7 separate regions of the Homo sapiens genome follow, and regions 1, 2, 3, 4, 5 and 7 are each linked to region 6. Evidence: promoter capture Hi-C in 16 types of primary human blood cells and fetal thymus (Javierre and others, 2016). All regions are on one chromosome and are shown on one strand. The core of a region is centred on a gene start or on the middle of the fragment in contact, and the rest is flanking DNA. Distances in the headings are between cores, read along the strand shown.

Region 1 (3,986 bases), core at 504-3,003, 1.4 Mb before region 6:
CCCTCCTGTTTTCTGTGCTCTGTCCCTACCTACCTCTCCTGTCCCCATCTCATGAGCGTTATCAAAGGTTATCACATTTGTCTCTTCTCCTCCCACCCCATCTCCCCAACTCACTGGAATCTGGCTGCTTCTACCCACTCCACTCAAACTGCTCTCAGCAAGGTCCTCAGCGACCTTGTCATGCACCCCAATGAACACTTTTCCATGCTGCTCTCTCTGCAGCTCCTGACACATCTATCTGAAACTGCTGCAAATCCCTCTGTCATCCACAATGCTCACACTCCCGGTTTTCCAAACTCTCTGATCACTATATTTGCCAGAAGTGTGTCTTCCTTCCCCTGCCCATTTCTGTTGGCTCCCACACACATGCTTCCTGGTTAGTTGTTTTTTTTTCACACTCCACACTTTTATGGGGTGAAGATCTCCTTAATGCCATTGTTTTTGCCTTGCTGATGACTCCCAAATCTGTACCTCTAGTCTAGATCTTTCCTCTGAGCTTCAAACTCCTGGCTATCCCACAGGCACCTCAGACTTAGCACCCCCAAAACATATCTTTTCCAGCAAACCTGCTTCAACTTCTGTACACTTTCTTCTTTGTCCCTCTTCTCACTGGATAACATCATGTGCTGTCTCAAGCCAGAAATCCAGGAGCCACCTTAGACTCCTCCCTCTCCATCATGCCCAGCTGTGGGCTGGCTTCCCTAGGAAACAGACTCAGAGATATTGTAGGTGGCTTATTGAGTGATGCTCTCATGAACAGCACCTGTGAGGGCTGAAGGATGAAGGACAGAGACAAGGAGTTGAACACTTAGTGAGGTTTAAACCGGGGCCTCAGCCAATGCTATGGCAAGCTCTGGACCCAGGAAGGTCCTTCAGAGCTGTTCCACGCTGAAGCCAGAAGCCACACACATATCCCTCAGTCAACCCGTCACTCAATGTGGGCTGCTCTCAGGAGGGGGCATGACCTTGGGTGAGGTGGCTTTCTCTGCTGAGGGCAATTCCTGGAGACAGACTTGGGCGAGAGCCATCAGCCGTCAAAACTCCCAGCATCTGGAGGGATGAGTGCCAAGTCTTAGAGGGAATGTGATTGTCACCATAGAACCCACTACATCCCTCATACTCGGTCACCAAGTGTTTTATCTATTTCTACATTTTAACTTTCAAATAAAATCCCTCCCTTTTCAGACTACTCTATCTGAGGCACCATGGCAGGGACAGAGCAATGGGCTGAGCAGACACGGTGCCAGTGCTCAAGAGGTTTACAATCTAGCTGAGTGAATAACCACCTAAATATATATTTTTAAACTACAATAAGTGTTCTTATTGTGTAACAGGGGAGGCTTTCCCTGTCAGGGAGTGACGTAGAGGCAGGGAAAGCTTTCCTGAAGAAGTATCATTTTCAATGGAATCTGAAAGATGAATAGAAGTTAACTAGGTGTATTCTTAGTTGGTTGGGAGGGGAGTGGGAAGAGTGTGGACAGGCAAATGGAATTGCCTATGCAAAGGTCCTAAGACAGGTGGGATAAGGCATTGGAGGACCTGAGAGGCCAGTCTCTGGAATGCAGAAACTGAGGAGGAAGAATAAGAGATGAGGATGAAGTTAGGCACGCAGGAGCCAGATCTTGCAGAGCTCATATTTGAGCCTTTTTTTCCTAAAAGTTATGAAAGCCACTGGATGATTGTGATCTCTGTGTAGTAAAAATGCTATGTCTTAGTTAAGCAGAATATGCAACTGCCCACAATCAAAGTCGATAAAATGGATCATATACATCTACAAAATGGTTTCAAGTTAAATTCTGTTAATGTTAAATGCTAGGGGCAAAAAAAAAAATGCAATGCAGATACCACTATTACAATAGCCTCCTTCTCTATCTCTAGAGGCTACTTGTAGTCCCTCTAAACAATAACACCTATTTTTGACTGCTTACTAAATGCTAAGTTTGCTAAGTGCTTTCCATAAAATATCTGGCTTAATATAACACCTTTAGGTGGGTACTATTTAGAAACTGGGTTCAGATAATATAATTTGCCCAAGTTCTCACAGTCAGTAAATGGCAGACACAAGCCAATTTTCCAGTTATAAAGCTAAAGCTCTTGATTGTACATTGAAATACCCCACCTAAGCTTTTGGAAACACTCAACTTCACAACTTTCAGTATCTCCATGCTGCCTTCAACTTCATTCCACCATGCCCTTCGCAGTAGACTCCCTTTGTAAATCAATGCCAACCTGATGCAAGCACAGGTTTGGAATACACACACCCTTAACACCATACAACAAACCACAGCTACCTTTTGAGGGCCACCACTAGAACCAGGACACTTTCTCCTGGCTCATCCCACCTGATACTTTTTCTCCTCCTTACCAACCCATGATTTTGATGCTCTAATCTCTGGCAGCTGAACCCAGTTCTAATTAATACATGCTAATATATGCTAGATAAATGTAAATTTACCTGAATAAGAGCCAAAGAAAAACAGAGGCAAATCCACTATAGTATTCTACTAATCATCCAGTTTGTCATTTTCTATGTTAAACCTCCCCCTCTATTCTTAATCAACAGTGGATAGGTTCCAAACTGCCTGTGCATAAACAATTATGAAAATATCCACTAGATGTCAGCCTTGAGCTGCAGTGAGGCTTGGGGAGCGGACATGGAATGGAAAACTCTTGGGAGTTTGGGTGATTTCCTTTGCAGTGTAAACTAAGGCAGGAACTGTAGTTAGCTTTTTGTATGAACACAATGGCTGGATTTTTTCAATGAGTATAAATACAATAAATTGGATCATGTCGTTCTTATTAACACGTTCCCATGGGTCCCCTTCTTATTCAGAGTAAAACCCAAAGTCCTTAGAACAGCCTGTGACACCCCACTGCTCCCACATTTCCCACCTCACCCATTTCAACCACACTGTCTCCTGAACACAACTGAAACTCTTCCTAGAAACACCTGAATGATTGACTATCAGATTCAAACATTCTGGTCACCTTACCAGAGGCCTTCCCAGACACCCTTTCTAAAATAGTGGCAGCCTGCACCACCCCCACTCATAATGCCCTGCCCCCTTACCTGACTTCTTCTTCACAGCACTTATCACCACCTAACATAACTATATTTGCTAGTTACTAGTCTTTCTCTGGAATCTCTGAAAGCAAGGGCTCTGTTCACTACTTTACTCCCAGAAGAGTGCCAGGCTTACATGAGGTGCTCAAAAAAATACTCATCAAATAAATGATCCTAATTCAAAGATATTCAGAGAAGAGGCCATAGTTCAAAGAGGCATTCATTTGTTTTCATTCAGTAGATACTTATTAAATACCTATTATCTTATTAATGAGAAACACAGTAAGTCCTTTGCACTTACAGAATCTCAGAGAGAATGCACACACAATTTTAAAAGGCTTTACAAAGAGAGAGATATTTGGGCCAGGTGTGGTGGTTCATGACTGTAATCTCAGCACTTTGGGAGGCCAAGGAGGGAGGATTGCTTGAGCTCAGGAATGTGAGACCAGCCTGGGCAACATAGTGGACCTCATCTCTATTAAAAATAAAGAAAAAAAAAATAGCCAGGCATGGTGGGCATGTGCCTGTGGTCCCAGCGGTCCCAGCTACTTGGGAGGCTGAGGTGGGAGGATCACTTGAGCTTAGGAGATGGAAGCTATAGTGAGCTATGATTGCACCATTGCAATCCAGCCTGGGCAACAGAGCAAGCCCCGCCTTAAAAAAAAAAAAAAAAAAAAAAAAAAAGCCGGGCACGGTAGCTCATGCCTGTAATCCCAGCACTTTGGAAGGCCAAGGAGGGCGGATTACGAGGTCAGGAGATCGAGACCATCCTGGCTAACACGGTGAAACCCTGTCTCTACTAAAAATACAAAAAATTAGCTGGGCATGGTGGCGGGCACCTGTAGTCCCAGCTACTCGGGAGGCTGAGGCAGGAGAATGGCATGACCCCGGGAGGCGGAGCTTGCAGTAAGCCAAGATTGCG
Region 2 (4,160 bases), core at 1,576-4,075, 1.3 Mb before region 6:
TCCCTATGCTTCATCTTCATCAAGAAGCATGATCTTCAAGCTAGGGAGGTCAGAAATCTGATAAAAGGAAACCAGCTTCTAAGGTAAGTGGCATGGGTAGGGGACAGTAACAGAATACAGAGCTAGTTCAAAAGAATATGCTTTCTGATCCAAATAACTCACACTCCATGATGCTGAAAAAACTTTTACATCTGCCTTAAAAACTACCACAAATTATCTAAGCTACCTTGACAAGGTGCCAGAAGACCAGAAATCAAATAAATAGAAATAAACACATGCTCAAATTTCAAAAAAGGAGAAATGCAGGCCGGGCGCAGTGGCTCATGCCTGTAATCCTAGCACTTTGGAAGGCCGAGGTAGGCGGATTGCCTGAGCTCAGGAGTTCGAGACCAGAATGGGCAACACAGTGAAACCCCATATCTACTAAAATACAAACAATTAGCCGGGCGTGGTGGTGTGCGCCTGTAGTCCCAGCTACTCGGGAGGCTTGAGGCAGGAGAACTGGTTGAACCTGGAAGGCAGAGGTTACAGTGAGCCGAGATCATGCCACTGCACTCCAGCCTGGGCGACAGAGCAAGACTCCATCTCAAAAAAAAAAAAAAAAAAAAAAAGGCGGAATGCAGATCCAGAAAAACATCTGTGGGTAAACCTGCTATGTAACTGCTGAAAAATTCTAAAATGGATAAATAAGTTTTCGAATACAGTAAAATGAGAAAGCCACCATCAGCTCTTTATTAAGGCAGGCTATACAACATGTGCTTTTTATTTAACAGGATTACTAAAATGGAAAAAGGGAGGATGACAGGATGATATATACACATAACAATCTAACAAGACAATCTGAAAGAATCTTTTAAATAATAGGCTGGTGAACAAAATGGGAAAATGTTGAACAGCAGAAGCTCGAAAATCTGTTAAATTCAACTAACAGGATGCATAGCTAGTTGAACATCTGGTTGACTAACGTAACAACATCAACCAAGTTGGTAGAAAGTCTCCAGTAATATGTCGCAGGGTTCCATCCTTTTTCACAATCTAGACAACTTCTATTAATTTAATGAAGCCATAGAACTGCTCTTCATATTTGCAAGTGAAAAAAACCTGTGAGTGACCCAACACGCACAGCCTGACCGAATCAGCTCCAGAAAGCTCACAGTAGGCTGAAATGATGGTCCAAAACCAAAAATGAATATCTACAGGGAATCGAGGGCTGTATTTAGTTTTAAAACTGAAATAGGCCGGGCGCGGTGGCTCACGCCTGTAATCCCAGCACTTTGGGAGGCCGAGGCTGGCAGATCACGAGGTCAGGAGATCGAGACCATCCTGGCTAACACGATGAAACCCCATCTCTACTAAAAATACAAAAAATTAGCCGGGCATGGTGGCGGGTGCCTGTAGTCCCAGCTACTGGGGAGGCTGAGGCAGGAGAATGGCGCGAACCCGGGAGGCGGAGCTTGCTGTGAGCAGAGATCACCCCACTGCACTCCAGCCTGGGTGACAGAGTGAGACTCCGTCTCAAAAAAAAAAAAAAACGAAATAGGCCAGGCACATTGGCTCACACCTGTAATCTCAACACTTTGGGAGGCCGAGGCAGGCGGATCACCTGAGGTCAGGAGTTCAAGATCAGCCTGGCCAACATTGTGAAACCCCATCCCTACTAAAAATACAAATTAGCCCGGCATGGTGGTGGGCGCCTGTAGTCCCAGCTACTCCGGAGGCTGAGGCAGGAGAATCACCTGAACCCAGGAGCCAGAGGTTGCAGTCAGCCAGGATTGCGCCACTGCACTCTAGCCTGGGTGACAAAGTGAGACTCCATCTCAAAAAAAAAAACATGACAGAGTAAACTTCAGTTTGTGGGGGGATACCTAGATAATAAAAGCTACTAAACAAACTGTGCACAATTTCGAGCTGCATTAACAGATGTGTGTGTCCAGACTGTATTAACATGGTTCTCAAACTTACCAACTAAAAAAATTTTTTTTCCATATGAATCGTTCCCAAATCTTCATCCTAAAAAGTTACAATAAGAATCTACAAGTATCACTTAGTTAAAACTCTAGCTTTAGACCCAGTTATTCAAGTATATCTTACTGCTAGAAAACATTTTATTTGATCAGCTTAATTTATTGACATTTATATCAGTGATGAATACGCTTGAAAGAAGACTCAGATATTACTAAATCCAAGTCTCTTTTTTAAAAGGAATGGAAACTAAGAGAAATTAAGTAACTTGCCCCAAATTACACAGCTGCTTAACAAGGACCATGACCCCTAGATCAGTCCCCTTTTTCCCACACTGCATGTCACCCACCCCTCCTCTTCAATGCATAGTACCCCAGGGTGACTAACTGAGCCCCAGGCTTCACACGCACACACACCACACAAAAACACAGGTTCACTTCTCCGGCCCTGGGACTTTCCTGCCCATACCCGAGGTCACTCCAAGCCCCTACATTCCATCTTAGAACCCAAAGAACACACACACACACACACACACACACACACACACACACACAGTCGCTCTGCATCACCAACCCACATCCTCAAGGGTATCCATCCCTCTATTTCTTTTATTTCCTTTCTTAAAACTTGAACTATGCAAGTTAGAAAGTACACACAAAAACATCCCATCAAGACACACTATATTTTGCTAAGAACGAATTAGCTTAGCAAGAACAAATACCCGCGACACATTAGCTGGAAAAATATTGACATGGTGCGATCACTTACAAGTTTGATAATTAATATTTGTTACATAAAAAGGCACTCTAATATACAACTGGTTTTTATTCTTAAAGTATGATTATGTAATAAAGCATTACCCCATATCCCGTTCAACATCAGAAAAATAACAGAAAAGTTTTTTCACGGATGGAAATGCTTTTAATGGACATGCCATTGTTTACTGTGCTCAAAACTGCCATTCCCCTCATAAAACATTACCATATGAAAATTATTAAAAGATTTAAGGCCTTCAAACCTAAATAGCGGGCCAAAGGCTTGCTTCATTTAGGGTAGCATAAGCATCTGCGCTGAGACTCTCTTGCTCCTTCCTCACTCTTCCAGAAATAATGCCCCTTCAAGAGCCCAAAAGTATAAAGGTTGTCCGGCAGATTCCCAGTGGCCTTATGTTCCTCCCTCCTCCCCCTACTCCGCCTTGGTTTAAAGAAGACAAGAGAAGGCTCCAGAATTGATAAAAGGGCAAGTTAGCAAGGATGTGGCTTATGATCACTAGCATCTGCTAGGCCAGCTCCAAGAAGACCCTCCACTCAAAAAATGAGACCTGAATGCCTGTCTTTGCCCCAGGGCCATAATCCTTGTGCGCCTCTGGGACCCCTTTAGAAATGAAGAGGAACTTTACTGCTGGGACCCTCCTCCCCAGTGTTATCCACTAAAGCCTCAGCAAGCTCTTTGTTTCCAACAGCTGTGGGGGGGCAAGCGGCCTTGGAGAGAGGGGAGAGGTCACTCCCTTGCTCCCCGCTGCTGCCAGAATCCAGGCCCTCCCGCAAAACACACACACACAGGCACGACATCTTCCCTGGGACCCAATTCTCTCTTTCCACACTTTAATAACCCAGGGTTACACCTTGCTACACAAGGGCATTCCCTGAGACCTAATTTCCTCTTTCTACATCCAAACCCTACACAGGATGATGACTCCCAAGCCTCCTCCCCTTTGAAAAGACATAAATGGGGTTCGCTATAGGGCACCCATCCCTCCTCTTCAATGCATACCCCAGGGTGACTAACTGAGCCCCAGGCTTCACACACAACACACAAAAACACAGGGTCACTTCCTGGGCCCTGGGACTTTCCCCGCTCATATCCACAGACCCGAGGTCACTCTAAGCCCCCAGATCCCATCTCAGAACCCAAAGAACACACACGCGCGCGCGCGCGCACACACACAGTCACTCTGCATCGCCAAACCGCGTCCTCAAGACAACCCGTTCCCTTTATCCACACGACCCCCACCCCCGAGACCCCCAGTGCCTTAAGGAAGAATCTCCCCAGCACATCAGCACATGGTCACTCCCCTGCCCTCACCCCGCCCAGCCCCCTCGCCGTCTCCCACCCACCGCACTCTGCACACACACACACAGATCCCTGCCTGGGGCCGCCCTCCCTCCCCTCAGCCTTCACAACACAAACACACGCTC
Region 3 (4,088 bases), core at 1,588-4,087, 1.2 Mb before region 6:
TAACCATGAGCCCATACTGTACAAATAAATGATGGAATAAACACATTAATTAAATTAATAGGGAAGAGTAGGCAACTCTTCTATGCAGAAGAATTCCAAATAATATGTGAAGATACTCCATCCTTAAGGTGGTGGAGCATAAATTCCCACCCCTTAAGTATGGATTGTGCAGTGACTGCCTTTCAAAGGGTACAGTATAGAAAAGGGGGAAAAAAGAAGAGTAACTTTACCATGGAGAAACCTGACAAACGCTATTTCAGCCAGATGAACAAGGTTAATATCACTAGTGACAAGTCATGTTAACAATCTGTACCCTTGAAATGGTATGATCAGAGTTACCTCTTCAGGTTTCCGCCCCCAAACCCAAACTCCAGTCCAATGATTAGAAAAACACCAAACAAATCCCAACTGAGGAACGTTCTACAAAATACCTAATTAGTACTCCTGAAAACATCAAGGCTATCAAAAACAATAAAAGTCTGAGAAATTTTCACAACCAAGAGGGGTATAGAAGACATGATGATTACATTTAATGTGCTATTTCGAATGGGACTGTCCAACAGAAAAAGGACATTAGGCAAAAATGAAGAAAATCTGAATAAAATATGGGCTTTAGTTAATAATAATGTATCAATATTTGTTCATTGATTGTGACAAAGATACCATTCTAATGTAAGATATTAACAATAGAGAAACTAGGTGTGGGATATATAGGAGTACTCTGTTCTATCTTCACAGTTTTTCTGTAAATCTAAAACTACACAAAAATAAAAAGTTGATTTTTAAAAATTGGCTTCTATGTTATAGACACCCTTAACAACACTAAAAGACAAAATCAAAACAATGATGTACTATTTTCAGATACCAGATTGACCAAAATGTAAAACTGTTTGGAAAAAATGGGTTCTTTCATGGAAGTGTAAATCGATAGGAGCTTTTTAAAGGGCAGTTGCTCTCAGAATGTTAAAATGTGTATTCCTAGGTATCTAGAGAACGACTACTTTCACATATGCAAAAAAGGGCATGCACAAGGGTTTCCTAAAGCATCATTAAACCTAACTTCTATCAAAAAGGAAATGATTAAATAAGCTATGGAATAGTCATATTTAGAACACCGTATTTCGGCCGGGCGCAGTGGCTCACGCCTGTAATCCCAGCATTTTGGGAGGCAGAGGCGGGCGGATCACGAGGTCAGGAGATCGAGACCATCCTGGCTAACACGGTGAAACCCTGTCTCTACTAAAAATACAAAAAATTAGCCGGGCGTAGTGGCGGGCGCCTGTAGTCCCAGCCACTCAGGAGGCTGAGAGAGGAGAATGGCGTGAACTCGGGAGGCGGAGCTTGCAGTGAGCCGAGATCGCGCCACTGCACTCCAGCCTGGGCCACAGAGCGAGACTCGGTCTCAAAAAAAAAAAAAAGAACACTGTATTTCATTAACTCGAGGATGTGACCCGCTATAGCCTTCGTTATTTCATACATCATTAAGAAAGAAAAATGATCCTAATTAAGCTATGACACAAAGCTTTCTTGCCATTTATAATTTTTATTTTATACTTATTGAAAAAGCTAATTAAGGCTTAAGACATCTTTAGTTCCATATTATCCTTATGCATAAATTAAAAGGATTCATGAAATAAATTGATTACCATATAGCTAAATCCTCTTCTCAGAGTCTGAACCTTCTGTATAATGTTTAGACTCAGAATCATCAATATGCCAGGCTGCTAACCTCCATTCTGCAAGTTTTGATGCATACCCAGCAGGCAATGACAACCACATCACTATTGCTGCCTTGCTAGCTGACAGCAACTGTAAGATGCATACCAATCTGAGAGATCATAAAATGTGAATAAAAAAGTGTGCCTTAGAAACAAGAGTATTTTGCAGCAGCTAAAGGAACTGAGGAATTCTAATTCATATTGCTAAGAAAAAATAGCAAGTTGCAAAAAATAATATGCAGTATAAGCACATTTATGGAAAAAAGCAAAATAAACCTCTATGTTTGTGGGACATTCCCTGAAAATTTGGCTACTCAAATTTTCTTCCTTTTTTTTTTTTTTTTTTTTTTTTTTTTTGATACAAAGCCTCTCTCTGTCTCCCAGGCTGGAGTGCAGTGGCGCGATGTCGGCTCACTGCAACCTCCGCCTCCCGGGTTCAAGCGATTCTCCTGCCTCAGCCGCCGGAGCAGCTGGGACCACAGGCTCGCACCACCATGCCCGGCTAATTTTTTTGTATTTTTAATGGAGATGGGGTTTCACTATATTGGCTAAGCTGGTCTCAAACTCCTGACCTCAGGTGATCCGCCCACTTTGGCCTCCCAAAGTGCTGGGATTACAGGCATGAGCCACCACATCCGGCCTCAAATTTTCTGTACTTGAAAATTCTATACTTTAGATACTTGAAATTACCTTTCAAGTATCTATAGAATGGCATGATAAGGGGGACCTCACAGCTCCCCTTTATTGTGCCATTCTATACTTTAGACACTTGAAAAGTAACTTTCCCAGACTCCTGTTGAGAGGTCAACTTGATAAAATTCCTGTCAATGAGTAGCAGGCGGGTATTCCCTTAGGCTCCTTTTCTTGAATGAAAATATAAAACTTCACAAGAAGATGACTTTTGGCTTTTCTTATCTAGTACATGCACACAATTCCTCGAGAAGCAGCAATCATCTTATGACCACAAGGACAAAAGTCACATGCTGGGAGTGGTAAACTGAAAGATAGAAGGACCCTAAGCGCCTGAGAGCATTGTTGAGCTGAGCTGCCATGCACTCCCGCTGTGCGCTGCCTGCTCCTGGGCTTCTTTCCTCTCCTTTTCTTTGTGTGGTAAAATATACATAAAATTTACCATTTTAACCATTTTTTGGTTTTGTTTTGGTTTTGAGGTCTTGCTCTGTCGCCCAGGCTGGAGTGCAGTGGCGCGATCTCGGCTGACTGCAACCTCTGCCTTCCGCGTTCAAGCGATTCTCTTGCCTCAGCCTCCTGAGTAGCTGGGATTACAGGTGCGCGCCACCACGCCCAGCCAATTTTTGTATTTTTAGTAGAGACGGGGTTCCACCACGTTGGTCAGGCTGGTTTCGAACTCCTGACCTCGTGATCCACCCGCCTCGGCCTCCCAAAGTGCTGGGATTACAGGCGTGAGCCACTGCGCCCGGCCCATTTTAACCATTTTTAAGTGTACAGTTCAGTGGCATTAAGTGCATTCACATGGCTGTGCAACCATTTTCACCATCCATCCAGACGTTTTCATCATCCTCAACTCTGCACCTGTTAAACACTAACTCCTCATTTCTGCCCTACCTGCAGCCTCAGGTAACCATTATTCTATTCATCTGTCTTTGTGTATAATATTTGACTATTCCAGATACTTCATGTAACTGGAATCATACAACATGTGTTCTTTTGTGTATGTTTTTTTTCACTTAGCATAGTGTCTTCAAGGTTTGTCCATGTTGTAACTTGCATCAGAATTTCACTCTTTTTAAAGGCTGAATAAGGTTCCGTATATACCACATTTTGTTTATCATTTATACGGGGACATTTGATTTGTTTCCCCCGGGCTTTTGTTTGTTTGTTTTGTTTTTTCAGGGTTTTACTCTGTTGCCCAGGCTGGAGGGCAGTGGGGCGATCACTGCTCGCTGCAGCCTCAACCTCCCAGGCTCAAGCGATCCTCCAACCTCATGATAATGGTTATAATAGCACTTGCCATTTACTGGGCTTTTTCTGCGTACCAGGCAGTGCGCTAAGCCCTTGATACATACGACGTCATTTAATCTTCACAAAATCCCTGTGATGCACACAACTACAATCAACTACATTTGATACAGGTAGCGATTGAAACTTGGACAGATAACTTGCCCAAGGCCACACACAGTCACACCAGACACTGGAATCTGGATCTGTCTCACTGCAAAGCAGCAATTCTTGACCACTAAAGTAATTGAAAAAAAAAAAAAGCAAAATCAATAGACTCGATGTGAGCAGTAAAAGACGCATCGTGTGTAAACTAAGGTCAGTCTCTGACGGGTTCTCTTTGAGTACCCCCGGGACACCCACTAAACGGCCCCAAGAGCGCTAACCCCACAG
Region 4 (3,994 bases), core at 739-3,238, 1.1 Mb before region 6:
TGGGATCATTTAGAGTCTTCTTTAGTTCGTTTTTTTCTCCCCCCATAAAAATGTATTTCTCTCGCATTTCTGAAGAATGTTTTAGCAGGGTTAATATTATAGATTTGGCAGTTATTTTCTTTGAGCACACTGACAATAATATTTTACTGTGTCCTGGTTTCTATTGTTAAGAAGTCAGCTATGAGTCTTAACTGTTGATACTTTAAGAGTTATCTGTGTTTTTTTTTTCCCCCTAAAGTTTTTCTTCTTGTCTTTCATTTTCTGCAATTTCACAGTGATGTATCCAGGTGTGATTTTCTTTTCTGTTTATTCTGCTTGGGATTTAGTGGATATCTGAGATCTTGAATCTTGAATGAAATGTCTTTTCATCGCTTCTGAAAAACGTATTATCTTTTAAACATTTGCCAATTTCTCTTCTTCCCTTTCAAGACCAATTTAATGCATGTTACATCTACTTACTGAATCCTCCACCTATTTTTTAATCTTTTATCTCTTCCAGTTTTTAATTCTTTAGTTGTATTCAGTTGTAGTCAAACATAAGTCCATTGAATTTTCATTTTTTATTTTTCAATTCTAGAATTCTTTCCAGTTGTTCTATCACCGTTCATTGGAAAGACTGTACTTTATCCATTAAATTTCCTTTGCTCATTTGTCAAAGTTCAGTTGACTATTTTCATGGGTCCGTTTTGGGACTGTGTTCCATTAATTTATGTATGTTTATTGTTTCACCAATACCATCTTATCTTGCTTATTGTAGCTTTATTGGGAGTCTTGAAAATGGGGAGTGTGAGTCTTCCAGCTTTGTTTTGCTTTAGTGCATTTTTTTGTTGTGGTTTTTTTTTTTTTTTTTTTTATGATGGGGTCTTCTTATGTTGTCCAGGCTGATTTTGAACTGGGCTCAAGGGATCCTCCCGCCTTAGCCTCCCAAAGCGTTGGGATTACAGGCATGAGCCACCATGCCCAGCTTGTTTTGCTTTAGTCTTATGTTTGGTATTCTGGGTCTTTGACCTTTCCATATAGACTTCAGAATCATTTTGTCAACAATTACAAAATAGCTTGCTAGAAATTTGATTTGGATTGTGTTGAATCTATCTATAGATTAGTTTAGGAAGAATTATTCCTTAAACTGCTAGAATGATGCAGAACTAGGATTCAGGTTTATCTTGACTTATTTTTACTTTCCTGGGAGAGAAACCTTTAAGGGCCAAGCTTAAGGTAGGGATGTTGTCCGGGCACAGTGGCTCACACCTGTAATCCCAGCCCTTTTGGAGGCCGAGGCGGGTGGATCACTTGAGGTCAGGAGTTACAGACCAGCCTGGACAACATGGTGAAGCCCCATCTCTACTAAAAATACAAAATTAGCTGGGTGTGGTGGCATGTTCCTGTAATCCCAGCTACCCGGGAGGCCGAGGTGGGAGGATCGTGCCACTGCACTCCAGCCTGGGTGACAGAGCAACACTCTGTCTCAAAAACAAAAAAACAAAAAACAGGTAGGAATGTCTTGGTAGGCCCTAGGCTTTGACTTTTGACTTTCTTTTCTTGTGGGGCCACTAAAAGGTTGCCTTAGTTTTGCAGCTTTTTTCTTTGGAACTGGCAGTTGCCCTCAGGACTAAACCTTGAGTGCTGGAATCTTGCACTTCTAGTTATTTTCAGCAATTTTTTTTTTTTTGAGATGGAGTTTCGCTCTGTCACCCAGGCCGGAGTGCAGTGGCATGATCTCGGCTCACTGCAAGCTCCACCTCCCGGGTTCACGCTATTCTCCTGGCTCAGCCTCCTGAGTAGCTGGGACTACAGGTGCCTGCCACCGCGCCCGGCTAATTTTTTATATTTTTAGTAGAGGTGGGGTTTCACCGTGTTAGCCATGATGGTCTCGATCTCCTGACCTCGTGATCCGCCCACCTCGGCCTCCCAGAGTGTTGGGATTACAGGCGTGAGCCACTGCGCCCGGCCTGTTTTGAGCAATATTATAATTACCTATACTACCTTTACTGGAAGTTAAAGTTTCATCAGAGATCTGCCTTCCTCCTAGAATTGTTGGTTGGTATATTTAGTCTTTGAAATTTCTGTATATGTTATTGGAGGAGCAGAAGGAACTCTCCCAAGTTTGCAGATGTCCATTGAGACTTTCCGGATTGTAATAGATTATGCTGCCTGAGATAAACTTACGGTAAATTTTCCAAAGCTCTACCTGTGGGGAAGAAATGTTGCAATTCTATCCCAGTGTTTACTGTCTCTTTTCTTAATGATAGGATTCTTAATTTTCATCTGAATGTATCACTACACAAAATAAAAAACAGATTTCCCAGTTTTCTTTGCAGCTAGGAGCAGTCATATGGGTAATTTCTATTAAATAGCTCAGACTTCTTCCAGTGTCAGACTTGTACATTGAATTATCTGTTGGCCATCTCCGTCTGGATTTGATTATGATACTTTAGGCTCAACATATCCAACGTAGAATTAATTTCTAGATCTCTCTGCCCCTTTTTCTTCATCATCTCTGAATTTAGTCACTACTGTTAGAACCCTTAATGATTACTCCTCCTGTCTCCACCATCTTCAGACTCACATATTTGTATATATTTAAGCATATTTCAAATCTGGCTAATTTTTCTTCTTTGTAAATGCTCTCCTTCTCCCAGTTCATACCAGTATTGACCCTGGTTCTTGGACTTGCCATCTCTTGTCTGGAGTGCTGCTTCTTTGTTTATAGGCTGTAACTCATTGTCCTTTTCGTATCCACACAATCATGTCTCTGAAAGAAGCTTGCAACCATGTTATTCCCTTGCTTACACAATTAATTTTGATGTCTTTAGCCTCTGGCTCTTTGTAACCTGGTTTCATTTTACCTTTCCAGGCTCATTTGTCGTTCCGGGTCTTAACATTTGATGCTTGATAATGCCAGATTTCTTTTATTTCCCTTCTCATGTATTTGTGGTTCCTCACTACTGTGCCCTTGCTCAAGACTAACTAGGATTAATCTTTTCCTTTAAAATTGATTGGCTTGAGATATTTATGGCTTTAGTCAAATTTACATGTTTCTTTTCTGTTTTTTAGTGATAGGGTCTCTCTTTGTTGCCCAGGTTGGAGTGCAGTTGTGTGATCATAGCTCACTGTAACCTCAAACTCCTGGGCTTAAGTGATGCCCCTGCCTTGGCCTCCTGAGTAGCTAGGACTACAGGCACTTGCCAGCATGCCTGGCTTATTTTATTTTTATTTATTTATTTTTTTGAGATGGAGTTTCACTCCTGTTGCCCAGGTTGGAGTGCAATGGCGCAATCTTGGCTCACTGCAAACTCCGCCTCCTGGGTTCAAGTGATTCTCCTGCCTCAGCCTCCCAAGTAGCTGGGATTACAGGCATGTGCCACCACACCCGGCTAATTTTTTTTTTTTGTATTTAGTAGAGACAGAGTTTAACCATGTTGGTCAGGGTGGTCTTGAACTCCTGACCTCAGGTGATCCACCTGCCTCGGCTTCTCAAAGTGCTGGGATTACGGGCGTGAGCTCCCATGCCTGGCTTTAATTTTACTTTCATTTTTTGTAGAGATGGGGTCTCGCTGTGTTTTCCAGGCTAGTCTCCAACTCTTGGCCTCAAGCAGTCTTCCCAGTTCATCCTCCCAAAACACTGGGATTACAGGCATGGGCCACCACACCCAGCCAGCTTTATGTTTTTCTAAACATGAAAGAAATAAGCTCTGCTGTTGAATATACCACAGTCTGAAATGAGTATGTTCTAAGTTGCAAATTTTGTTTTTATTAAAATATTTTATTTTAGATTTTTTGAAATTGTGTTTTGTTTGGCTAGAGTGAATAAACTGATATTAATATGTGAATTATAAAATTGTTTCAAATCAGTGCTTACCGGGGTATGTCTCCTTATTTCACATGTGAGAAAGTTATGGCCAGGAAAGACTAGTGATTCTTTTAAGTCAGATGATTAGTTAAAAGCAGAGCCAAGATCTACTGTGATTTCCATCCAAATATAAGCATCTGCCTT
Region 5 (3,773 bases), core at 291-2,790, 1.0 Mb before region 6:
CAAATCAAAACCACAATGAGATACCATCTCATACCAGTTAGAATGGCGATCATTAAAAAGTCAGGAAACAACAGGTGCTGGAGAGGATGTGGAGAAATAGGAACACTTTTACACTGTTGGTGGGACTGTAAACTAGTTCAACCATTGTGGAAGACAGTGTGGCGACTCCTAAAGGATCTAGAACTAGAAATACCATTTGACCCAGCCATCCCATTACTGGGCATATACCCAAAGGATTATAAATCATGCTGCTATAAAGACACATGCACACGTATGTTTATTGCGGCACTATTCACAATAGCAAAGACTTGGAACCAACCCAAATGTACATCAATGATAGACTGGATTAAGAAAATACAGCACATATACACCATGGAATACTATGCAGCCACAAAAAAAAGATGAGTTCATGTCCTTTGTAGGGACATGGATGAAGCTGGAAACCATCATTCTCAGCAAACTATCGCAAGGACAGAAAACCAAATACCGCATGTTCTCACTCATAGGTGAGAATTGAACAATGAGAACACTTGGACATAGGGTGGGGAACATCACACACCGGGGGCTGGTGTGGGATGGGGGAAGCAGGGAGGGATAGCATTAGGAGATATTCCTAATATAAATGATGAGTTAATGGGTGCAGCACACCAACATGGCACATATATACATATGTAACAAACTTGCACGTTGTGCACATGTACCCTAGAACTTAAAGTATAATTAAAAAAAAAAAGAAAATCATATATTTATGTTTATAGATGCATACATGTGTATGCCATGTAATCTTTTATAAAAGTTATAAAATTATTCCCAGCCTATATTATAACTATGTTAAATTATATATATAGAAAAAGACTGGAAGAGAACATGGACAAATAATAGTCATGATTAACAGATGGATTTGTGGGTGATCTCTTCATCTTGTAAACTGTTGTTTTACTTATGTTTACAACAAAGAAGAAATACTCTAAATTCTTTGGAGCAAACAATATAGAAAAGACAGAATTTCTACCTCTTTGTCTTGAATGTTAGGGTCTGCATTGTTTTCCATGAGAACTGCCATGCAGTTGATATAGCCTCCATATGCTGCACACTGCAAAGGGGTTCTTCCTGCATAATCCTGGACATTTGGATTGATCTTATTTTCTATTAATATCTGGCAAACATCAGCATTTCCTCCCAGTGCTGCCCAATGTAGAAGAGAATGTCCATCTTGGTCAACTAGATCTACCCTTGCTCCACCTGGAAAAGCACAAATATAATGAGAATGTCTAATATAAATAGCTTTTATTAAAATGAGTAGGAGTAGAAAAAACAATTGTTCCTTAAATGCATTTATTAAAATGAATAGAAGAAAAACAATAACAATTGTTCCTTTAATGCTTTATTCTTATGGAAATGCTTCCACATACGTTGTCTACATCAGATTTTTACAATAAGCTTGTAAATTGGACTGGCTAGGAATCAGTCCCCCTTTATATAAAATAAAAGTGAAGATCAGGCAGGTGAAATTACTTTTCCTGTATCAAGCAACTCCCAACAAGTGGAGCTAGGAGTAGAACTTGAGGTTCCTCATGCCATGTTGTGTGATCATCCCTTCATCCTTGTACTTGTGCAGCTTTCTGCTAAGGAAAGCTTTATCTTAAACAGAGTATGCAAGAATTCCTACCTGTTAAGAGAGACTTATTAGGAGTACTCTTATTAGCCCACCTTTAATGAGTGTCTGAATCACATCTTTGTGTCCCATCTCACAGGCTCGGAAAAGTGGAGTATGTTTCATAACATCAGTAGCATCTACTTGAGCATTATTTTCCAGTAATAACTTCACGGTGCTGACATGGCCAGAAAGAGCAGCAGCATGCAAAGCTAAAAGGGAACCAACAGAAAGTGATGAACTAGTCAATAACAACTTCACCTTTTAAATTATTATATGTCTTTTCCTCTCTTGATTTCCCCATCATTTTGAATAAATGCAATCTCCATTTTAAGGATTCACTAATTTATTTTTTGCTTTTTTAGATTCTGCCTTCCTTCCTATTCATATGTATTACTCACACTTTCTCCTTTCCTTCTACCTTTCTCTTCTTGCTATTTTCTTCCTTTCCATCCTGTTGGTCTGAAATGGTATCCTCTTCTCAGCTACTAGTTTTCTCTTTTCAGCTATTAGTTTTCTCTTTTTCTCTTTAAGAGAGCAAGAAAACAATAACAAAGAGGAATGATTTAAATGATGTACACAATTCTGCCCAACAACCCACTCAATAAGCATATGCCCCTAAGGGGTCATGTGACTGGAGACATCAATCTACTGTTCCTTCCATTGGTTACATGCACTGTTCCTTCAGTTGGCTGAAGTACCCCAGTGGTACTGAAAGCACGCACATCTTGCTGCATTGAGTGCATTTTTAATACAATATCAGCTACAAGCCAGCTACTTCCCCAGGGCTCAATTTAAGAAACAGCGAGGTGGCACATGTCTATAGTCCCAGCTACTTGGGAGGCTGAGGCAGGAGGACTGCTTGAACCCAATAGGTCTAGACCAGTCTGGAGAAAATAGAAAGACCTCATCTCAAAAAAAGAAAAGAAAAGAAACAGGAATTTGCTTCACTGGAGAAAAACTGAGATGGAATATGGCCTCCTCTCTTGTGCTGTCCAGAGGTTTTAAAGAGTAATTTTGATTAAATGTGTTTCATGTACACTGACTCCTCTCTATGTTACTCCAGTGTAATGCTTGGCTTATGCCATCCCTCTATAGGTTTGAATTAGCCACAATAACACTTTAGAGGCCTTGGCCAGTTCTAAGTATTATGGCTCTATAAGGCCTAGAACAATGTCTCTTTCATAAAGGGTGATCCACAGAGCAAACCTGGATGCAGATTTTTGGGCTGGGTAGTATTATAATGCTGGGTGTTTAGCAAAGAATACAATAGATAAGGTTACATTCTAGGAAGGGAAGCAAAACAAAACAAAAACAAAACAAAACAAAACAAAAACAAAACAATTCCCCATCAATAAAGTTATTATATAGTGATAATTGGTATAATTAAAGTAATAAAAACTATTTTGATATGTAGAATCACTGAGGGACTACTTTTGATTGGTGGTTATGAGCTGACATTTAAGTTGAGACCTGAACCATGAAAAAGACAGCGTATTTTGAGCAAAGGGAAGAGTTAGTACAGGACAGGAACGACTGTGTATGTTTAAGGAAGGAAGGGTAGTTGCAGCACAGTAAGTGACAGTGGAGTAAGTCAGAAACATAGAAAAGGCCAGATCACAAATGGTCCTATCAGTCAGTGATGGAAGACATTTGAAGGGCTTTATATAGTGGAGTGATATTATCTGATTTATGCTTTAAACAGATCACTCTAGCTCTTCTGAGGAGAAAGTATTTGTAGTAGATTAGAATATAAGCAGGGAGACCAGTAAGGATTTTGGCAGTAGACTGAGTGAAAAATGATGGTGGTCTGATTAGGGTGGTTGCAATGGAGATGAAGAGAAACAGAATGATTTAGAACACATTTTGGAGGTGGAGTCAACAGGACTTGCTACGGGATTTGACATAGAATCTTTGTCCATATAGCCTGGGAATCTGAATTTAAACACCTCTAGTAATTCTTATGCCATTCTTGAATTTGGGAACCACTGACCTAAATGACTGAATGTTAGTTTGACCTAGACAAGATTCAGACAGGCGTGAGTAACTTCAAATATCTGAAGTGCTATAACATGAAAGACAGCACAGGGTAGAACATTCACATTTACAGATGAAAGGA
Region 6 (3,874 bases), core at 723-3,222:
TTATAATGATATGAACAAAATGCTATGGGGGCAAAAGGGAAAACTAGTAGCTACTGCTGCTTACAGACAGAGAAGGCCTCAAGAGGAAATAACCCCTGAGCTTAGTCTTGGAAAATAAGTAGAAATTTGCCTTGAGATGAGGGAGAAAGTTTGTGAATTCAGAAAACAGTAATGGGTTCACGAGTGCTGGATCATAGGACAGCAAAGAAAGATTAGGCTGAAGGCCGGGCGCAGTGGCTCACGCCTGTAATTCCAGCACTTTTGGAGGCAGAGACGGAGGATCACAAGGTCAGGAGATCGAGACCATCCTGGCTAACATGGTGAAACCCCGTCTCTACTAAAAATACAAAAAATTAGCTGGGTGTGGTGGCACGTGCCTGCAGTCTCAGCTACTCAGGAGGCTGAGGCAGGAGAATTGCTTGAACTCTGGAGGCAAAGGCTGTAGTGAGCCGAGATCGTGCCACTGCACTCCAGCCTGGGCGACAGAGTGAGATTCCATCCCAAAAAAAAAAAAAGGAAAAAGAAAGGTTAGGCTGAAATGACCACTAAGAGCTTTGGTATCCCCCCGGTTTTTTTTTTTTGTTTGTTTGTTTTTTTTAGTTCAGCAACAAGTAACAGAAACTACGCAGAAGAGTAACAGCAGAGCGAACGATGGACTGGAAAGCAAACAGCCTGAAGAAAAGGGTTAAGTAGCAAATGCAAAGCAGTAGAAAGGGAAAAGGAAAGAGCTTATGAGAAAGCTTTCAAGCAGAGTTTAAAGTCTGGCATATGACTAGAGAGAGAAAGAGCATAAGAAAAATCCAAGATGACGCTGACGTTTCTGGCTCTGAGTAAATGAGTGTACAACAGTGCCATATGGAAGTAAGGAGATATAATTGAGAGTGAGAGAGCTGAGCTGAAAAGAGACTAAGTTTTGTGTAGGACGAGTTATCTGTAGGACAGATTGCTTATGGGGCCGCCAGATGGAAATGTGAGTGCAAACCTCAGGTCCAGAGACACCAGTTTAATGACATCGGTTTTCTCAAAGTTATCTCTGACTCTATTCCAGTTTGTTAACTTTCCTTTTTTAAGAGTAGTGCCCTAAACTGAGCAACGAGAAAAAAAATGTCGCCTTCCTCCCAAAAGGCCTTTAACTACTCCCACGGCCACGTCACTAGAAGCTCATTTTGCCTTTGTCAATCTTCACATGCTAGGGTCTCCACCCCAGAATCAGCGAGGTTCTGGGTCCTATCTCCGAGTCTGGAAGCGAACGAACTGCAGGGTTCCTTACCTCTGCCGGACAGTGGATCCCGCCGCCCGGGCGGCCACTGCTTTGCTGGGAGAGCGCCCTGAGGATCCCACGTTAGTGCCACTGGGGGTCGGACCAGGCTGTAGAGGGAGACAAGCAGACAGACGGGTGAGCGCGGCAGGCCTGCCCCAGAACCCCGGCCTAGACACCCACACCCGAGGCTGGGGGAAGCAAGGGAGCTACAGAGGAAAAGCACGGCGCAAAGCAGGAGGAGTCAGGGCTTCTGGGAGAGGCGGGGATCATGGAAGGGCCGCCATACCATATTGGAGATGAGGGTGGCAAGGCGCTGACGCGGACGGATAGAAAGTTACGGAGCCCCCGAAAGACCGGCAGCTGGCGAGACTGACTCAGGCCCCGCCCCCGGACTTGCAGGCAAGGTCCTCTCTGACCCCAGGGACGCCTGGGTCGTCTCACGATATGCCTGTAGACAGTCTGCTACAGACAACTTAGTTACCTGCTGTATGGGAAGTAGAGACCTCCGGCCTCCTTCCTTTGGATCACAACGTCCTTCAGAAAGTCCAATCCCTACCGAAGGAAAAATATAACCGGGGTCAGACAAGATATTTTCTCAGGCAGTTACTAGACCCTCACAGATTTGCGCTGATGTGGCCTAACTGACGCACGTACGGCAGGGCGGGGTCGGCCCGCAGTGGCCAGCTGGGAGCTACGAGCGCGGAGCTTGCGCAGAAGACCCCCATCAGGGTGCGGGGTGCAGTTGCGGCTCCAGGGCCATGGCGGAGGAGCAGGGCCGGGAACGGGACTCGGTTCCCAAGCCGTCGGTGCTGTTCCTCCACCCAGACCTGGGCGTGGGCGGCGCTGAGCGGCTGGTGTTGGACGCGGCGCTGGCGCTGCAGGCGCGCGGGTGTAGCGTGAAGATCTGGACAGCGCACTACGACCCGGGCCACTGTTTCGCCGAGAGCCGCGAGCTACCGGTGCGCTGTGCCGGGGACTGGCTGCCGCGAGGCCTGGGCTGGGGCGGCCGCGGCGCCGCCGTCTGCGCCTACGTGCGCATGGTTTTCCTGGCGCTCTACGTGCTGTTCCTCGCCGACGAGGAGTTCGACGTGGTAGTGTGCGACCAGGTGAGGCGGCCGCGGGGCCGGCTGCGCGAGTGCGGACCTCGCCGTGGAGGGCGGCCGCGGGCATGACCCCTGAGAGAAGACCTTCCCTGTCTGCGGTTCGCAAAGATCGGAACTGACATGGAGAAGTCAGGGTTGTGAGCGAGCCTGTGGTTCTCTAACTTTAGTGTGGGCCCATTTAAAGTTGCAGATTGCTGGGGTTCCATCCTCCAGGAAGTTTTCATCCAGGTGCCCTGAGGTGGGGCCCAGACATCTGCATTTTAACTGGGTCATAGGGTGATTCCGAGGTAGATAGTCTTTGGGGCTCTGAGAAACGCTGGTATTAGAAGTCAGCTTCAGTCACCTTTTACTAATGAGTAACTCGCGTGTTGTCTTCCCGCTTACCTGTTATTTTTGTTGACTCTCCTTTCAGGCCATTTGCATCCCACTGTCCTTGTGTTCGGAGCCAGGCCACACCGTCCTCAGCAGTGTCATGTGTTAAAAACGCCAAGCTGAATATATCATGCCCCTATTAAAACTTGTACATGGCTCCCCATTGGTTTTTGGAGAAAAGTTCAAGCTTTTTACCTTGGTAAATAATGTCCACCTGGATCTGCCCTGTAGCTATTCTTGACTCTTTCCTTCGTGCATTTTTCCCCATCCTAAAAAAGATGACTTTAAAAAGTAACATTTACTCGATTAAAAATTTAGTAGTATAGAAGGATGTAACCTAAAAGCCCCGTCCTATTCTACTCCCTGAAGATAGCCACCGTTAAGTTTCTCTTGTATTTTTTCAGAAGTTGTGGTGACACCAGCCTGTGTCTTTTCATAGGTATATCTATATCTTCTTATTGGTACATAATTGGTATTATGACATACCTACTATTAGGCATCTTTTTCAGCAAAAATTTATTTATTTATTTATTTATTTTGAAACGGAGTCTTGCTCTGTCTCCCAGGCTGGAGTGCAGTGGCGCGATCTCGGCTCACTGCAACCTCCGCCTCCAGAGTAGCTGGGAGTACAGGTGCGCGCCCCACGCCCGGCTAATTTTTTCTATTTTTAGTAGAGATGGGGTTTCACCATGTTGGCCAGGCTGGTCTCGAACTCCTGACCTCGCGATCCGCCCACCTCGGCCTCCCAAAGTGCTGGGATTACAGGCATGAGCCACTGCGCCCAGCCGGGACATTCTTATGTATCAATATTAGAGATTCACTTCATTCTTCATAGTGGCCAGAAAATCCACTTTTGTTTAAGTGTGTCATAATTAAACATTCTCCTTAAAGGACACTAATGTTGTGACTAGTTTTTTGTGAATAGATCAGTGTTGTAATGAACATCCTTTTACTTCTTTTTTTTAAAATATTTTTGTACTTCTGCAAATATGTCGTTTGAGGAAATTCCTAAAGTTGGTGGGTCTAAGAGTTGTTCATTTTAAATATCAATAGCTACTGCCAAGTTTGCCTACCAAGGAGGCTGTGTCACTTTACTCCCCCACAATGTATGATAGAGCCTCTTACTCCATGCTTTTGT
Region 7 (3,644 bases), core at 351-2,850, 1.1 Mb before region 6:
GGAAGAAATACATAGCAATACAATAATAGTGGGGTGCTTTAACACCCCAGTCTCAGCATTAGATCATCGAGAAAGAAAATACAAAGAAACATCAGACTTAAGTTGAACTTTAGACTAAGTGGACCTTACAGACATTTATAGAATATTCTACTCAACAAACTGCAGAATATACATTCTTCTCATCATCACATAGAACTACCTATCTCCCAGATAGACCATATGGTAGGTCACAACAAGTCCCAACAAATTTTAAAAAATCAAAATCATACCAAGTATATCTCCTCAGACCACAGTGGAATAAAATAAGAAATCAGTACTAAGAGGAACTTTACAAATGATGCAAATACATCGTTTTGCATTAATGTATTGCAAAATCAAACAACATACACCTGAACGATGACGTGCTCTTGAGCAATCATTGAGTCACTGAAGAAATTAAAATAGAAATTCAAAACATTTTAGAAACAATTGAAAATGGAAACAAATCATACTAAAACCCATGAGATACAGGAAAAGCAGTGCTGAGAGGGAACTTCATAGCATTAAATGTCTACATCAAAAAAGGAGAAAGATAACTAATCAGCAACCTAACGTTGCACTTCAGGGAACTAGAAAAGTAAGAACAAACCAAGCCCAAAATTAGCAGAAGACAAGAAATAACAAAGATTAGAGCAGAACTAAATGAAATAGAGATCAAAAAACAATACAAAGGGTCAACAAAATGCAAAGTTGGTTCTTCAAAATGATAAGATTGATAGCCGGTAGCTAGACTAAGGAAGAATAGTGAAGATCCAAATAGACAAAAAAAGAAATGAAAAGGAGACATAACAACTGATACCACAAAGACTGTTACAAACAACTATATACCTACAAACTGGAAAACCTAGAGGGAAAATGGATAAATTCCTGGAAACATACAACTCCCCAAGGTTGAACCAGGATGAAACAGAAAATCTGAACAGACCAATAATGAGTAGTATGGTTAAATTGGTAATAAAAAAATCTCCAGGCCGGGCGCAGTGGCTCATGCCTGCAATCCCAGCATTTTGGGAGGCTGAGGTGGGAGGATCACGAAGTCAGGAGTTCAAGACCAGCCTGAGCAATATGGTGAAACCCTGTCTCTACTAAATATACAAAAGTTACCCAGGTGTGGTGGCATGCATCTGTAGTCCCTGCTACCCGGGAGGCTGAGGCAGGAGAATTGCTTAAAGCCAGGAGGTGGAGGTTGCAGTGAGCCTAGACAGTGCCACTGCACTCCAGCGTGGGTGACAGAGCGAGACTCTGTCTCAAAAAAAAAAAAAAAAGAAAAATCTCCAAAGAACAAAAAGCCCAGAACCAGATGGATTCACAGCTGAATTCTGCCAAATGTACAAAAAAGAGCTAATACTCATTCTCCTGAAATTGTTTCCAAAAATCAAGGAGGGAAGAGGGAATTCTCCTTAATTCATTCTGTGACACCAGTATCACGTGATACCAAAACCATACAGGGACACGCTGAGAAAAGAAGGCTACGTTCCTATGTGTGTGTCTCTTTTTTTTTTTTTTTTTGGAAACACAGTTTCACTCTGTCGCCCAAGCCGGAGTGCAGTGGCACAGTCTCAGGTCACTGCCAACCTCTGCCTCCTGGGTTCAAGCAATTCTCTTGCCTCAGCCTCTTGAGTAGCTGGGATTACAGGTATGCACCACCACACCTGCTTTTGTATTTTTAGTAGAGACGGGGTTTCACCATGTAGGCCAGGCTGGTCTTGAACTCCTGACCTCAAGTGATCTGCCTGCCTTGGCCTCCCAAAGTGCTGGAATTACAGGTGTGACCCACTGTGCCCGACCCTATTCTTTATTTCTTAAATTTTTTTCTTTTTCTTTTTCTTTTTTTTTTTTTTGACCAAGTTTCACTCTTGTTGCCCAGGCTGGCGTACAATGGCACGATCTCTGCTCACTGCAACCTCTGCCTCCCGGGTTCAAGCGATTCTCCTGCCTTAGCCTCCCGAGTAGCTGGGATTACAGGCGCTTGCCACCATGCCTGGCTAATTTTTGTATATTTAGTAGAGACAGGGTTTCACCATGTTGACCAGGCTGGTCTTGAACTTCTGACCTCAGGTGATCCACCTGCCTTGGTCTCCCAAAGTGCTGGGGTTACAGGCATGAGCCACCATGCCCGGCCACTATTTCTTAATGTTGAAAGGTGCTTGTCCAGTGAGAATGCAAAATTATGTCATCCTAAGTAATTTTGATTTCATTTTTTCATGAAGTAATATTCTCTCCTGGCTAATTTTATTTTTTGTTAGCCAGTTTTGACAGTGTTGTCAACAGGGTAGTCTCTAGGTTCAAGTTACAACCTAATCTTTTGTTGTTGTTGTTGGTATACCAATGAATTTATTTACTTGATAAATTCATTTTATTTTGAATTACCTTCATGTTCTTCCTATCTCTAGGGACTATATCTTTTATAGATATTTAACTTATTTCTCTCATGGCTTTGTTTGACTCTGGTCACAATGCTAGGGTCATGCCAATGACATCCTCTTTTTATTACCCATAGTGCCTGGTACTGTGTTTACTTATAGGTCTTGAAATCTTACGTTTATTTTAGGTTTTCAGCTTGCTTTTATCTCTCAGGGTCTGTATGGTGACTTGTAAATTCTCAGGGAAAGCTCAGCTTCTATACGGTTATGGTAGCACATGTAACTTTCTTGGTATGATACTTGGGGAGAGTTCAGGTAGTCTCCTATTTGTGAAAGAGGAGATTATATTAGAGTAGTTATGGCAGACCAGTTTTCTGCAAAAAACAGTGGAGAATGGTATTTAGAAACCAACATGTGGAATTTAGGTGTGCTTATTGCTGTTGGATGTTGCTTCTCCCGTATCCTCTTATTGGACATAAAGTAGTCATTCAACACCACAGAGTTTATTCTAGTTATATCCTGTTTCTTTTTTGTACCTGCTTTCTCTGATAGAAACCTGGCTCCAGTTATACTTAATATATTTACTTGATCAGCTTCTCTGTCTATAATTAGTCTTCCTTTGCTGCCACCCCTCTCATCTCACTCCATTTGGGCTCTGGTTCTTTCGGGCTGTCTACTCTGGGCCATCTCAGCACTCCCACCAAATCCAGTGCCAGAGTTTACCTAGTTTGGCTCCAGCCATTGGCTTTAGAACTGAATTGTTTAGGGCAGCAAGGGGAGGCAGAAGGGAAGTGATGAAGTGGTCATTATTGAATGTGCACTTTTCAAATGTGGTTTGGATTAATAAAAATATTCACCATGTTTGTTTTGGAGTAGGAAGATGGCCTTGGAAATGAGTTTTTTCTCATTGTTACTTAATGGTATAAAAGAAGTTACCAAGTAAAATATCTGGGTAATATCTACAAGATATTTTACAGAGAAATAATGTATAGATCTGTTGATTCCCCCCCCCACACACTCTCAAATCTGTAAATAACAAGTATAAAAAGTCTTGATTTTTCAGGGCTAGATGACAGCTCTCTTGAACTTAACTGACTGATCTCTTCCTAGAGTGATATTCATCCTTCTACCATTCTTGTTTTTTCATGTGATGTTTTTACATATTTCATTTTTGGTAGTATACTGTATCAGATTCTGGAGTTTGTGCTGTGACTGATATCTGTGAAGGACTTAGTACTGTTC

Evidence for each region. Contacts are between HindIII fragments. The CHiCAGO score rates a contact against its expected background, and 5 or more counts as called.
Region 1: a fragment that was not itself captured here is called in contact with the fragment with the promoter of ALG2 in region 6 in 10 of 17 cell types (fetal thymus, naive CD8 T cells, naive CD4 T cells and 7 more); the score reaches 15.7 in fetal thymus.
Region 2: a contact is called between a fragment that was not itself captured here and the fragment with the promoter of ALG2 in region 6, in 1 of 17 cell types (fetal thymus). The highest score is 5.9, in fetal thymus.
Region 3: a fragment that was not itself captured here is called in contact with the fragment with the promoter of ALG2 in region 6 in 9 of 17 cell types (fetal thymus, non-activated CD4 T cells, activated CD4 T cells and 6 more); the score reaches 11.8 in fetal thymus.
Region 4: a fragment that was not itself captured here is called in contact with the fragment with the promoter of ALG2 in region 6 in 1 of 17 cell types (fetal thymus); the score reaches 6.1 in fetal thymus.
Region 5: a fragment that was not itself captured here is called in contact with the fragment with the promoter of ALG2 in region 6 in 1 of 17 cell types (erythroblasts); the score reaches 5.1 in erythroblasts.
Region 7: a contact is called between a fragment that was not itself captured here and the fragment with the promoter of ALG2 in region 6, in 1 of 17 cell types (M2 macrophages). The highest score is 5.5, in M2 macrophages.

What each region holds. Positions count from the first base shown.
Region 1 is chr9:100,594,426-100,598,411 of GRCh38, reverse strand. No RefSeq gene overlaps it. Among named protein-coding and RNA genes, the nearest start is that of CAVIN4, 18 kb to the right of the region's middle. The HindIII fragment of the contact is 747 bases long and covers 1,380-2,126 here.
Region 2 is chr9:100,474,072-100,478,231 of GRCh38, reverse strand. All of the region lies in intron 1 of MSANTD3-TMEFF1 (MSANTD3-TMEFF1 readthrough), which reads right to left. All of the region lies in intron 1 of TMEFF1 (transmembrane protein with EGF like and two follistatin like domains 1), which reads right to left. Among named protein-coding and RNA genes, the nearest start is that of TMEFF1, 3.0 kb to the right of the region's middle. The HindIII fragment of the contact is 6,579 bases long and covers 1-4,160 here.
Region 3 is chr9:100,411,906-100,415,993 of GRCh38, reverse strand. No RefSeq gene overlaps it. Among named protein-coding and RNA genes, the nearest start is that of MSANTD3, 13 kb to the left of the region's middle. The HindIII fragment of the contact is 2,626 bases long and covers 1,525-4,088 here.
Region 4 is chr9:100,330,496-100,334,489 of GRCh38, reverse strand. All of the region lies in intron 5 of TEX10 (testis expressed 10), which reads left to right. Among named protein-coding and RNA genes, the nearest start is that of TEX10, 20 kb to the left of the region's middle. The HindIII fragment of the contact is 1,553 bases long and covers 1,212-2,764 here.
Region 5 is chr9:100,250,376-100,254,148 of GRCh38, reverse strand. INVS (inversin) reads right to left here. Exons shown (of 17, transcript NM_014425.5): 9 at 1,711-1,866; 10 at 1,013-1,242. Among named protein-coding and RNA genes, the nearest start is that of TEX10, 100 kb to the left of the region's middle. The HindIII fragment of the contact is 195 bases long and covers 1,443-1,637 here.
Region 6 is chr9:99,220,040-99,223,913 of GRCh38, reverse strand. It overlaps ALG2 (ALG2 alpha-1,3/1,6-mannosyltransferase), which reads left to right and starts at 1,972. Exons shown (of 2, transcript NM_033087.4): 1 at 1,972-2,367. The coding sequence starts at 2,020. SEC61B (SEC61 translocon subunit beta) reads right to left here and starts at 1,632. Exons shown (of 4, transcript NM_006808.3): 1 at 1,548-1,632; 2 at 1,271-1,368. The coding sequence starts at 1,550. RefSeq lists an enhancer at 1,563-1,882. The HindIII fragment of the contact is 2,183 bases long and covers 743-2,925 here.
Region 7 is chr9:100,311,750-100,315,393 of GRCh38, reverse strand. All of the region lies in intron 11 of TEX10 (testis expressed 10), which reads left to right. Among named protein-coding and RNA genes, the nearest start is that of TEX10, 39 kb to the left of the region's middle. The HindIII fragment of the contact is 4,493 bases long and covers 1-3,644 here.